Linked DNA regions of Homo sapiens: region 2 is linked to region 1. The links are contacts of gene promoters, found by promoter capture Hi-C in blood cells and fetal thymus (Javierre and others, 2016). All regions are on one chromosome and are shown on one strand. The core of a region is centred on a gene start or on the middle of the fragment in contact, and the rest is flanking DNA. Distances in the headings are between cores, read along the strand shown.

The links. The method cuts DNA at HindIII sites, captures the fragments that hold promoters and counts their contacts. A CHiCAGO score of 5 or more calls a contact.
Region 2: a contact is called between a fragment that was not itself captured here and the fragment with the promoter of HMMR-AS1 in region 1, in 1 of 17 cell types (M0 macrophages). The highest score is 9.6, in M0 macrophages.

Annotation. Positions count from the first base shown.
Region 1 is chr5:163,489,042-163,495,534 of GRCh38, forward strand. HMMR-AS1 (HMMR antisense RNA 1) reads right to left here and starts at 5,017. Exons shown (of 4, transcript NR_109892.1): 1 at 4,658-5,017; 2 at 4,402-4,508; 3 at 210-342. HMMR (hyaluronan mediated motility receptor) reads left to right here. Exons shown (of 18, transcript NM_001142556.2): 17 at 1,349-1,511; 18 at 2,071-2,900. The coding sequence ends at 2,123. The HindIII fragment of the contact is 5,178 bases long and covers 1,743-6,493 here.
Region 2 is chr5:160,829,191-160,835,968 of GRCh38, forward strand. All of the region lies in intron 1 of ATP10B (ATPase phospholipid transporting 10B (putative)), which reads right to left. Among named protein-coding and RNA genes, the nearest start is that of ATP10B, 20 kb to the right of the region's middle. The HindIII fragment of the contact is 877 bases long and covers 982-1,858 here.

The DNA.
Region 1 (6,493 bases), core at 3,767-6,266:
TGATGGGTTTATGTGGATGGTTTCAGGATTAAAGTGTTCCACCTCAGATCATGAGGCATTAGATTCTCATAAGGAGCATGCAGCCTAGATCCCTCACATGTGCATTTCACAATAGGGTTCACACTGCTGTGAGAATCTAATGCCGCAGCTGATCTGCCAGGAGGGGGAGCTCAGGGGGTAATGCTTATGCTTCCTGGCTCACCACTTACCTCCTGCTCTGCAGCCGGGTTCCTAACAGGCCTTGGATGGGTATTGGTCTGTAGCCCGGAGGTTGGGGACCCCTGCTTTAGAGCACCCTTAGGCTTCAGCTTCTCCAAGCTCTGTTGCAGGTGAAGTCAGTTCCTTTGAAAAGAAATGAGGAGCTCCCTGTTTTATGGCCTACTTGTCTTTTCCGCCCTCCTTTCCCCCTCCCCCGACAATATCCCTGAGCCAGGACTAGAGCTGAAATTGGGGACAATGGCAGTTTTCTCTCTGAGTGACATCCTCTGCCCTAGGAGCTGAGTTTTCAGTGGACTTGTGGGGAAGAGATGAGGAATAGCCTCAGGCCCTCTTGAGTAACCTCCTGGTGTAGAACCATCCCCCTCATGAGCCAGAGAAAGAGTCATCGGGGCCCAGCATTTTCAACACACTGTGCCCAAGGTGAGCCCCTGTTCCATGAATGGGGCTGACTGGAGGAAGGGATCCCCCACCTCACAATTGCATTTGTCCAGGATATAACTGCAGCCACAGGGAGCTGGGGACAAAATGAGAAACTCTGATGTCCTGGTCCTCCTGGGAGGGAAGCTTCTGACTCGGAGTTGGGGGAAAAGAGGGCCCTGTGCTTTTGGCTGTAGCCGTCTGGCGTGGACTTTGCCTTGCTAAGCTGGGAGTGGGAAGAGGGGAAGGAGTTTTGGCTTAAACACTGCAGACTCTCTTTTTCACCAAATTTTTGCAGATTTTCTTGAATAGATGTTTCTTCATTTGCTATTTTTCCCTTAGGTCAATTTTCAGAGGCTTTAACTGGTTAATATTTTATAACTTTTAGTTTCACTAGGGAGCAGGTCAGCAGAACTTTCATGCTGTCATGCCAGAAGTCCATCTCAGCAATTACTTTTGAGTTGAACTTTTATCAGAAAAATAGCTTTGTAGCTGAGGAGGGGCAAGGAGATTTAAAAGACTGTATCTCCTTTGTCACAGCTGTTTCATGTCATTTTGTAATTCAGTCTTAAAGCCTGTGTCTAGTAGTGATTTTTGCTGTTGAGTGTGATAATACATAAACAACTTTGGAATTTGCCCGCAACATTGGTAACACATTTCACTGACATACTCTTTAATAATTGTTTATTACCTATTATTTCTTTTTACCTAGGAAGTATCAAAACTCCGCTGTCAGCTTGCTAAAAAAAAACAAAGTGAGACAAAACTTCAAGAGGAATTGAATAAAGTTCTAGGTATCAAACACTTTGATCCTTCAAAGGCTTTTCATCATGAAAGTAAAGAAAATTTTGCCCTGAAGACCCCATTAAAAGAAGGTAAGACATGAATAAATGTATAAAAGTGTCCTCTTCCTTTGGATTTGCTTTTATAGCATTTAGCAAGTCATCCATTTTATGAACTGTGAAAATTTGTTGACACCTTCTGATAAAAGCAGTTCTTACTGAGATTGTTGTGTACAATGACTGTTTTCTTCCTCCTTCTACGCTTTCTTTTCTGTATACCTGGATTCTGCCTGTTCTTCAAGGCAAATCTCAAATCTTCCTTGAAGCTTTGCATGACTATTTTGTCCCTGTCCACACACCCCAAATTACTCCCTCTATAATACCCTTAGCATTTTAACCTAAATGTCTCTTAGGTCCTTAATCATTTTCTGATTTGTAGTTTTAGAGAAGTAAATTTCTTATTTCTTGACTGTGAATGTTTGTCTTTCACGATAAATTAAAGTTGGTTGAAATGATAAATCTAAAAATTATCTTACAGAATATATTGCTTCATCTGCCTTAAAGAAGATACAAGGCCTGTTTTTAGTTTATAATGATGGATAAATTCGTTTTAATCTAGATTACTAATCCTTCTTTTCAATAATTCTTCTAGGCAATACAAACTGTTACCGAGCTCCTATGGAGTGTCAAGAATCATGGAAGTAAACATCTGAGAAACCTGTTGAAGATTATTTCATTCGTCTTGTTGTTATTGATGTTGCTGTTATTATATTTGACATGGGTATTTTATAATGTTGTATTTAATTTTAACTGCCAATCCTTAAATATGTGAAAGGAACATTTTTTACCAAAGTGTCTTTTGACATTTTATTTTTTCTTGCAAATACCTCCTCCCTAATGCTCACCTTTATCACCTCATTCTGAACCCTTTCGCTGGCTTTCCAGCTTAGAATGCATCTCATCAACTTAAAAGTCAGTATCATATTATTATCCTCCTGTTCTGAAACCTTAGTTTCAAGAGTCTAAACCCCAGATTCTTCAGCTTGATCCTGGAGGTCTTTTCTAGTCTGAGCTTCTTTAGCTAGGCTAAAACACCTTGGCTTGTTATTGCCTCTACTTTGATTCTGATAATGCTCACTTGGTCCTACCTATTATCCTTCTACTTGTCCAGTTCAAATAAGAAATAAGGACAAGCCTAACTTCATAGAAACCTCTCTATTTTTAATCAGTTGTTTAATAATTTACAGGTTCTTAGGCTCCATCCTGTTTGTATGAAATTATAATCTGTGGATTGGCCTTTAAGCCTGCATTCTTAACAAACTCTTCAGTTAATTCTTAGATACACTAAAAATCTGAGAAACTCTACATGTAACTATTTCTTCAGAGTTTGTCATATACTGCTTGTCATCTGCATGTCTACTCAGCATTTGATTAACATTTGTGTAATATGAAATAAAATTACACAGTAAGTCATTTAACCAATTAATTTTTCAGCTTGTATTTTATGAAGTTACATTCATGCTTCTATGTAAGATGTATTTATCATCTCTACCCTACCCACACCACCTTGTCCCCAGAATCACAAAAGATACTGTTTGGAAAGTGGTAAATCTCTCTCTAAAATGCCTGTTTTGCACATATCATTGGTATGATATTTATAAGCTACCTTTTTTATAATGTGTTCTCACTGATGGCTCAACAGGGACTATCAGTCAGAATTGCTTTTCATTATTATTTTATTAGATCTTAATACATGGTTGAATTTTAAAATACAGTTTTTTAAATTAAGTTCAGAAGAAACGTAGAAATTAGAAAAATTGTCTAATAAAATAAAATGGTTTAATGGGCTGGGCCCAGTGGCTCACGCCTATAATCCCAACACTTTGGGAGGCTGAGGCAGGTGGAATTCAAGACCAGCCTGAGCAACATAGTGATACCTCATCTCTAAAAAATATATAAATAAATAATAAAATGCTTCAGGACCTCTACTTTTAGCCAACATGGGGTAACAAGATGAACAACCAGGTGCACTGCCCAAAGTTCTGCCCACTGGGAGGATTTCTCTTTACCACTATCCTTCAGGGATGTCCCAGAGAAGGGCTGGTGTACTATGGCTATCCACTTTCAGGTGATGCCTACATATCACACAGAACCATCTATAAACTAGGCCCATGTTGTTTCTTCCTGTCAACTCATCATAGGGAACTCTCCATGAGCTTGGGAGAAAAAAGGCAAGGTAGCAGGAACAGGGACCATGGGCATTTGGGTCACTTCTTCATGTAACTTGCTTTTGCCTTCAGGTCCTGCCTGGGCCCAGTCACATACATAACACGTTCTTTGATGATGTACTCCTGCTGTCCACACCCAGCATTATGGCTTGTGGGTCAGATAACACCCAGCTCATGATGGGCAGCTCAGGTCGCATGGTAACTTAATTGACCACGGTAAGCATTCAGTCCCTACTGAAGCCCAGCAGTAGGCCCAGAGCTGTTTCTCAAAAGAGTAGTTATCTGCATAGGATAACAGGTCTTTCTTCAAAATACTAAGGGTCTGCACTGAGATTCATCTATGTGGGCCTGCCAAAGGTTCCAACAGCATCTCTATCTGCCACTGACACTTCAAATACCACTGGATCTGCAAGTTCATATGTCCCAAGCAACAAAGCCGCTTACACAATAGCCTGGACCTATTGCAGAACCTTTCCTATTCTGAGTCCTACTCCAAACTAGCAGCTTTTCAAGTCACTCAGTAAATGGGCCAGAGTAACAAACTCAAATGAGGAAACGTCTTCAAAATCCAAAGAGGCCTGCCGCATGTCATGCCTCTTCTGGTTGTAGGAGGGGGCAGATGCAAAAACTTACCTTAGAAGGGGTATCTCAACATGCCTCATACCACTGGACCCCTAGAAATTTTACTGAGACATGAAAAAGCCTTTGAATTTTTGTTGGATTTACTTCCCACTTCTGACATGCAAATGTCTTACCAATAGGTCTGGAGTAGTTGCTATGTCTCACTCATTAGGTCCAGTGAGCATAATGTCGTCAATGTAATGGACCAATGTGATGTGGAAAGAAAAGGCAATCAAGATTCCTGTGAACAAAATTAGGACAGGGCTGGTGAGTTGATATGCCCTGAGGTAGGACATGAAGGTGCATTTCTAGCCTTGCTAGCTAAAAGCAAACTGCTTCTGGTCGGCCTTATAGACAGGGATGGAGAGAAAGGCATTTGCCAGATCATACCAGGTAGCTGCATACCAGGAACCAGGAGTTGTGTTAATTTGCTCAAGCAATACATCTGGTACTGTAGCTGCAATTGGAGTCACCACCTAGTTAAGTTTGTGATAATCCATCTGTCTTCTGCCCAGGCTAAATAGGCGAGTTGAATGGACATATGGTAGGAATCACCACCCCGCCTTCCTTCAAGTACTTATGGTGGCACTAATCTCTTCAGTCCCTATAGGAATTGAGCATTGCTTTTGGTTTACTATTTTCCTAAGTACAGATAGTTCTAGTGGCTTCTACTTGGCCTTTTCCACCATAATAGCCCTCACTCCATAGGTAAGGAAACCAATGTGTGGATTATTCTGTCAGCTGCTGACTGTATTCTAATTATACATTCTAGAACTAGGGGATAACCACAGGATAGGTTCAGGAATTCACTGGGCCCATTGTGAGATGGAACTAAGCTAAAACTCTGCTGATCACCTGACCTCCATAAGCTGCTACCCTGACAGTAGCACTTTGGATCTCCTGAAATTAGTGTCACTTCAGAGAGCCAGTGTCCACTAGTTCACAAAAGATCTGATTATTCCCTTTTTCTAATGCACAGTTACGTTGGTAAAGGTTGTACATCCCTTTGCGGAGGACTAGGAGAAAGACTAACAGTATAAACATTTGGTTATGGACCAGGGTCCCTTTGAGGTCCTCCCCTTCAATCAAAGGGTTTTGGGCTCTATAAAGTGGCTCAAGTTTGGGAATTAAGGGACCACGATTCTGTTTTTATGATTCGAGTTCAACTTTCGTCACTTGACTTAGAAGTTTTCTGCTTATACAGATCAAGTTAAGACTTCAGTAGGCTTCCTATCTATTTCACGTCTAGGAAAACCATGATCAACTAGCCAAAGCATAGGTCTACAAGTGAGATTATTCTAATTGTTCCTTTGGCTCTGTCATTATGATAACCACTTCACCTTGCCTTTGGTGGTTGAGTCCCATTACTTGACCCTTGCCACCCTGGGATCCTTTACTTCCATTATATTTAGGTTTTCCAGTTCAGTGACTGCAGTGAGCTCTGGCCTACAGAGAAGAGCCATCACAGAGTTCTGAAAAAGATGCTGGAGCTCTCCTCGCAAATTTCTTTCTCATAGTATTGGTGAAAGGTATGCTTTCTTGACCTTCCCAGTGTGGATGAGTAGTTCTTTTTTTTTTTTTTTTTTTGAGACGGAGTCTCGCTCTGTCGCCCAGGCCGGACTGCGGACTGCAGTGGCGCAATCTCTGCTCACTGCAAGCTCCGCTTCCCGGGTTCACGCCATTCTCCTGCCTCAGCCTCCCGAGTAGCTGGGACTACAGGCGCCCGCCACCGCGCCCGGCTAATTTTTTGTATTTTTAGTAGAGACGGGGTTTCACCTTGTTAGCCAGGATGGTCTCGATCTCCTGACCTCATGATCCACCCGAGATGAGTAGTTCTTAAGTGAAAAATCTAATTTCCCAATATTCCTAAACCTTTTAATCCCATCCTCTAGATTAAACCAAGGCATGTCCAGCACTTCCAATTCATCTTTTCCATGTTTTAGTAAGCCAATCAAACTGTGAGCACCCTTTCTAACTCCCCAAGCTGCAATGTTAAATGCAGAATCTTGGCTTAGTGAGCCCATGTCAATAAATTTGACCTGATCCAACTTTATGTTCCTTCCATCATTTTCCAACACCTTTATTATCCATTCCGACATATGTTCCCAGATTTTTGTCTGTATAAATTAGAGACTTTGAGTAACTCTTTGGAGTATAGCACATCTCTTCATAGGTAACACTTTGTTCCTGTCTAGTTTCAGGTCTAGAAGCAAAGAAGGGTGGTGG
Region 2 (6,778 bases), core at 170-2,669, 2.7 Mb before region 1:
AAAACTTAAAGTATAATAATAAAAAAAAAAGCAATTCGTTGTTTTTGTCAGCCTTATCAAAAATTAGATGGTTGTAGGTTTATGGTTTTATTTCTGGTTTTTCTGTTCTGTTTGATGGAGCTACATGTCTGTGTTTGTGCCAGTACCATGCTGTTTTGGTTACTGCACGCTTATAGTATGGCTTGAAATTGGGTAGTTTGATTCCTCTGGCTTTATTCTTTTTGCTCAGGATTGCTATTTGCACTCTTTTTTTGGTTTCATATGCGTTTTAGAATAGTTTAGAATCGTTTTTTCCTAATTCTGTGAAGAGTGACATTGGTAGGTTGATAGGAATAGCATTGAATCTCTAAATTCCAATAGGGAAGTATGGCCATATTAATGATATCAGTTCTTCCAATCCATGAGTACGTAACATTTTTCATTTATGTCATCTCTGATTTCTTCCAGTAGTCTTTGTAGTTTTCCTTTTAGCAATCTTTCATCTCATTCGTTAGCTGGATTTCTGGGTATTTCACTTTTTTTGTGGTATTTTAAATGCAATCATATTCTTCGACTCTTAGCCTAGATGTTATTAATGTATAGAAACGCTACTGATTTTTGTATATTGATTTCATATCCTGCAACCTTGTTAAACTCATTTATCAGTTCTAGTTGCCTTCTGGGGGAGTCCTTAGGGTTTTCTAAGTATAGAATGATATTGTCAGCAAATAGAGATAATTTGACTTCTTCCTTTCCTATCCGGATGCCTTTTATTTCTTTCTCTTGCTGATTGCTCTGACTAGGACTTCCAGTACTCTGTTGATAGGAGTGGTGGGAGTGGGCATCCTTGTCTTGTTCCAATTCTAAAGGGGAATGTTTCCAGGTTTTGCCTGTTCAGTATGATGTTGGCTGTGGATTTTATAGATGGCTCTTGAGGTATGTTCCTTCTATGCCTACTCTGTTGAGGGCTTTTATCATGAAGGGATGTTGGATTTTATCAAAAGCTTTTCTGCATCTATCGAGGTTATGTGGTTTTTGCTTTTAATTCTGTTTATGTGGTGAATCATATTTATTGATTTATATATGTTGAATCAAATTGCATATTTTCTTTAATGTTCTATTTTTAAAAATATTCCCAAATGCACTCGAGCAATTCACTTCTTAACTTTTTTAATTGCTGTGTGTTTGTATAGGCATTGTGACAGTTGACTTTATGCCTTGGAAGTGAAATGTTCAATACATGTGTGCTGAATAAATACATGTTTTCTGTATATGGCAAATTGTAATAGTGACACCAGATCAAATAGGTTTAAGATTTTTTTGAGCCTTAAAAACCAATGCTTTGCTTTTTCAAGTGTGCTCCCAGCTGTAGATTGATTTGAGCCTTACTTTTTACTTGTATTTATAGGCTATCCATAGAGAAAACACTGTTGATTTCATGTAATCTATGTTCATTAGAAATTGAGCCAAATTTTTATGTATGAAACTCTGGATTTTTTTTTTAAGTTGAGATTTTGATAGTTCCATTATCTGTAGAGTAGATTTTTATTGCATATTTGACAACTACGTCACTGGAAGCTCTAGAGTAGAAATGAAGACAGCAAATATAATGGAATCTAGAAGGATCACTGACAAGTGAAAATTTTACCTGAGCTTGTGCTGGCCTTCAACCTCGGACTCTTATTTTAGTTAATCTGACATCTCCAAACAATACCTTTGGTTAATTTTATTCTCATTCTCTCTATCCCTGTTTCTGTATGCCTCTTCTCAATCTCTCTCTCTCTCTCTCATACATACACAAACACACACACACACACACACACACACACAGAGTGGACAGAATAGTGTAGTGGTTAAAGACAGACTTTGAAATTGGGCAAGCTTATATTAACTCTCATCTTTGTCACTTATTTTTATATTTGCTCTGTCACTTTCAACACGCTTTTTTTTTTTCTTTTAGATTCACTCAGCCCAAAGTTCTTTATTCATTCAATGGAGAAAATAATAGTATTTCTTAGTTTGTTGTTGAGCCTAGTAAATGTGGTGACTCAGGTAAACTTCTTAGCACAGTGGCTGGCATATAGTAAGTTCTTAATTAATGGTGACTCTACCTAGCATAGAATTTTCCTTGTTTAACTGCACAGATCACTTCTGATACCTTATGATGAATAAGATTACTGAACTTTCCTAGTTTCCTCTTCTGGCAGAACACATTACCCCTACTTAAGCTTTAAATAAGCAGGAGACTTTCCTAAGTTAGGATTTCAGGAGATTGCCAAGTACATAATACTTCATTTGTGGGAAAATACAGATGAAAATCTTGAAACAAGAGAAGAATTTTGGGAAGGTCAAGTAGGTTCAATAGTGTTCAGGCACTAAAAGCTGTAATTACTAATTATGAGGTAACACCTCAGGCTTCCTTTTAAAGTCTGCTTATTTCTAGTTTGTAAACAATTCTAACAAGCATGAATCTACCCCATCTCTAAGCAAAAAGCCCTTCTGGAATAGCAGATAAGAAGAAAAGACAATTCATTGTGAAAAGTGCTGAATACCTCCTTACCAGGGAAGAGATTGAAGAAACAAACATATAAATTTATTTTAAAAAGAACAAAATTGTTTACAGTTCTATAGGATGTCAAGAGGTAATAGGCAATAAAGAGTTCCTTGATCAAGATGTGTGGAAAACACTGGTTTGAATAAAGTTAAATTTCTCACTTTTCTTTATGGCTTCCCAGAGTCTCTATCTCTAAAAACGAAAGTAGGTGAGTAAAGTATACTGGAATTTCCAATCTAACTTGAACACAGAATCCTTTTATAGAACAATAATGGGAGCTGTGTTCCACAAAAGCCAGTTTGCTTCTCTGGTCTTAGGCCTTTGTTCAAGGGGTCAAATAGCCCAGCATTTGTCAACAAGTAATCAGAACATCCAAGCAGTATAGCAATAATAATCATAATAATGCCACAGAGCAGTATGAGATCACATTGTGTTTATTATCACCTTTTAAAATAAGCCAACACCTTCAAACTGGCAATTTTACCTTCAGGAAATCAGCCTTAGAAATACTCATAAAACTCTGGCTACCTTTGTAAGATTGTTCATGACTACAGTATTTGTAGTATTATGTATTTAATAACTAAATGTCCATCAGTAAGAAATTGCCTGGATAAGTGATGGCTCAACCAATATAACAAAATACTATATAAATACTCAAAAGAATAAGGTAGTTTTATATGTACTAATAGGGAAAAATGCCCTCAACACATTGTTGATAAAAAGTGTTAAGTTGTAGAGAGAGTATATAGCAAGGTATTTATTTTAAAATTTACACACATATGCCCACACTGAAACAAATGAATGAATAAGGGTGTGTGAATGTGTACACACTTGGATGTATCTGGAGAACAAGGAGACAGGCTTTCAATTTTTACTGTATAACCTGTGCTTCTAGAATGTAGACTGCTCTTAAGATACATTTGCTCCCACTTGTCAAAGAGATAAAGCTAAATAAGCCACACGATTATACTCTAAAAAAACCCTCATCTTCCTGACGACACAAAAATACCTAAATATGATAAACAGAGAGAGAGAAGCTACTCCTAGAGAACACTGCCACAGCTGTATCATCCCGGAGGGCACGGCACAAGAAGAACAAAACCTGCCATAGGTGGGGGTAAGGAGAAACAAGCCCAATTTTTATCAATCTTTTATGGTCAGGCATGGGCTGGCATGACACATTAGAATCCTGGGCAAATCTAGCCCAAAGTAAGTCTGCAGTCACTCGTCACTCTCCAACCCTTTTCATGGCATGTGTGCCAAGTGCGTAGTGTTAATGTGCCAAACTCTGGAGTAGGGCAGGGAATCAGAGAGAGATTTTCTCTGAGGAGCCTGGGAACTTTACTAAATATAAAGCATCAGTCTACTGAAGGCTGGTGGCAGGCTAGTATGATGGAGAGATTTAACAAGGCATAGAAAACTGTTTACAGAACTAGAGAGCAGAGAGAAAATATACTACCTCAAAAGTTTATGGTTGTGCTATAAGAGGAGAGAGCAAGAGAAATCTCATACAACTTGGACAGCTGAAAGCTGGGTTGTAGAATACAGGGGAATCTTGAAACTATCACTAATAATTAGGTTCTAAGACCCAATGAAGGTAAAGCCCTAATGCTGCCTTCAAATTGTTTGATGGTAGTGGTGAAGTGAATTTAAATAAAGCTGCAGCAAATCTCAGATTCAGCTCAGTTATAGATTAGATGATTAGATTGACTCAACTCTCCACCTCAGCTGTCTGAATAGAAAGGGATATGCTCTTTTCAAGGAGTTAATATTTATTTCATCCTGTTTGATTTTCCCACACAATGTCCAGCATACAACCAAAAATTATGAGACAGGCAAAGGAGCAGGAAAAGTTGGTTCATAATCAAGTGAAAAAATAGTCAATTGTAGAAGTACAGACGTTAGAATTAGAAGACAAATATTATAAAATAACTATGATTACAATATGTGAAAGGATCTAGTGGAGGAACTGGACAATTTATAAACAGATGGAGAAATTTAGCTGAGAAATGAAACCTTATAAGACAGAACCCTATTTTTACTTTGTGTGATGTTTTTAAATCAATTACATTTGGCAGTGAGAAGACGCGTTTTAAATCTTAAAAATGACTTTAAAAGCATATTTCCAAATGTTTTCATGCAAAATAGTTAAATTATAAATTAAATACTTTAGAGGGAAACCTCAACTTTATGGGAAAACTTTGTTATGAATATAATATATGCCCTGTGGTTTCCTGGCAATTTTTCTACCATACTTGTGGGCAGTCATACAACATGAATCATCTAATAGACTCCTGGTTGTTAAAATCATAACCAAAAGGCTGTGCATGGTGGCTCATGCCTATAATTCCAGTTCTTTGGGAGGCTGAGGTGGGTGGATCACTTGAGGCCAGGAGTTTGAGAACAGCTTGGCCAACAGACAAAATCCCATCTCTACTAAAAATACAAAAAATTAGCCAGGTGTGGTGGTATAAGCCTGTAATCCTAGCTACTTGGGAGGCTGAGGCATGAGAATCGCTTGAACCTGGGAGGTGGAGGTTGCAATAAGCCGAGATCATGCCACTGCACTCCAGCCTGGGAGACATAGCAAGACCCTGTCCCCAAAATAAAATAATAAAATAAAATAAAATGGTGATCAAACCAACAGTGCTTCTAATAGGGCATAACATCTGATTCTTATGCTCCTAGGGTAATGAGCATGCTGTCTAGGGTGATGAAGTTCAGTCTTGGGCTGCATGAGGCAGATATAAATAGAGGTTGATTTTACATATATCATTAATGGATCTGTACAAAAGGATGTGCCTTTTTCAGGGCAACATTCTTTATGAAATGCTATTGATGGAGATAAATATGGATAAAACTGAAACGTACAGATGGGCCAATAGGGAGAACCATGCTTAAAATTTAAGGAAATAAAACCTTAATTACGGGCTCAAGTGACAATACTTCTTTTGGTTCACAATGTGCTTTCAGACACTCACATACAAATTCTCATCAGGCTGAGAAATTTTTGGTTACACTCCTTGTGGTATACGTTTCTTCCCCACAGATTTCTAGCCAAAGTATGGACTAATTAACATGACAGGCTTTTTCCTTGAGGACTGAGGATCTGTAAGACCTTGGTATCTTCAATTCTCCTTAAGGTGCTGTCCAGAATGAACTTAGTCTGTATGCATCTATAGCACCCCTTGACCAGATGTTTATGCCTGCAACATTTGCCATCTATACCACCTTAGTCTTATGAGAACTTATTTTGTGTGTTCCATTGAAACTGAGAATTCAGGTTTTTCTGGAAAAGTAGTGACAGCTGAGATATAGATTACTGATGAGGCTGAAGTTCCTCTGAACACATGCTCAGTGGGAGAATGTTCAAAAGGAATGTTGTGGAGCTGAAACAGAGATAATTCCTCAGCAAGATTAAAAAAAAAATCTGTAAGAGCTCTGTTTCTCACACCCTGGACTAAGATGTGACAAAAAAATAACTCGAGATAGAGAGACAAAGCAGCAAAATTGTTGGGTTGAGTTGTCAGTTCAAATTCCAAACACTGGCTCAGAAATGGACTGTGCTTGTTGAAGAACAAGCTGAGATGTATAGCTTGTGGTGTTTTGTTGTTGTCGGAAGAATGTTTAGCTTTTGCTTTCCAGTCATCTACAGGGGAGAGGGGAGTAGAAAATGACAAGTAGAAATGGAAAGAGGAGCATATGGTCATCTCTATCTGCTGCCCAAAGTTTTATAGAGCATGTTGTTCTCTGGGACCTCCCACCTGCATTGGGAATAAGCTCATGTGCTACTTTTGGATCTTGACCCACTGGCTTGAATTCAGCTTCTCTCTCACCTCAGGGGTTAAGGATAAAGGCAAGCTTGGGGCACACACAGCATTGTGAGGATAAATATTACCACATCATTTTCAACCAAAGAGACTTTTCCTTTTCCTGATTTCAAAATCTCTGTCAAGCAGCTGTTGCTTATACTGTACATGTTTGTATAATGTCTAGGAGGCAAGTTAGGCATGGCTTAGAATGTTTGGCTTCTAGGTAAAGATTTTTCTTCATGTGTTAGAAATATACAAAAACAGCAGGTCCTTCATGGGGTTTTCTGCCCTCTGATTGGTAGTCACATCCAATTTGATTAAATTGTTCTGGCTTCCTAGTTTGTTTATTTAATAAAATTTGTAATCTTTTATAGGGCCCATTCTTCGAACTTGGTCCCAACTGCTGATATCCTTGGGAGTGGAATGAAAACCA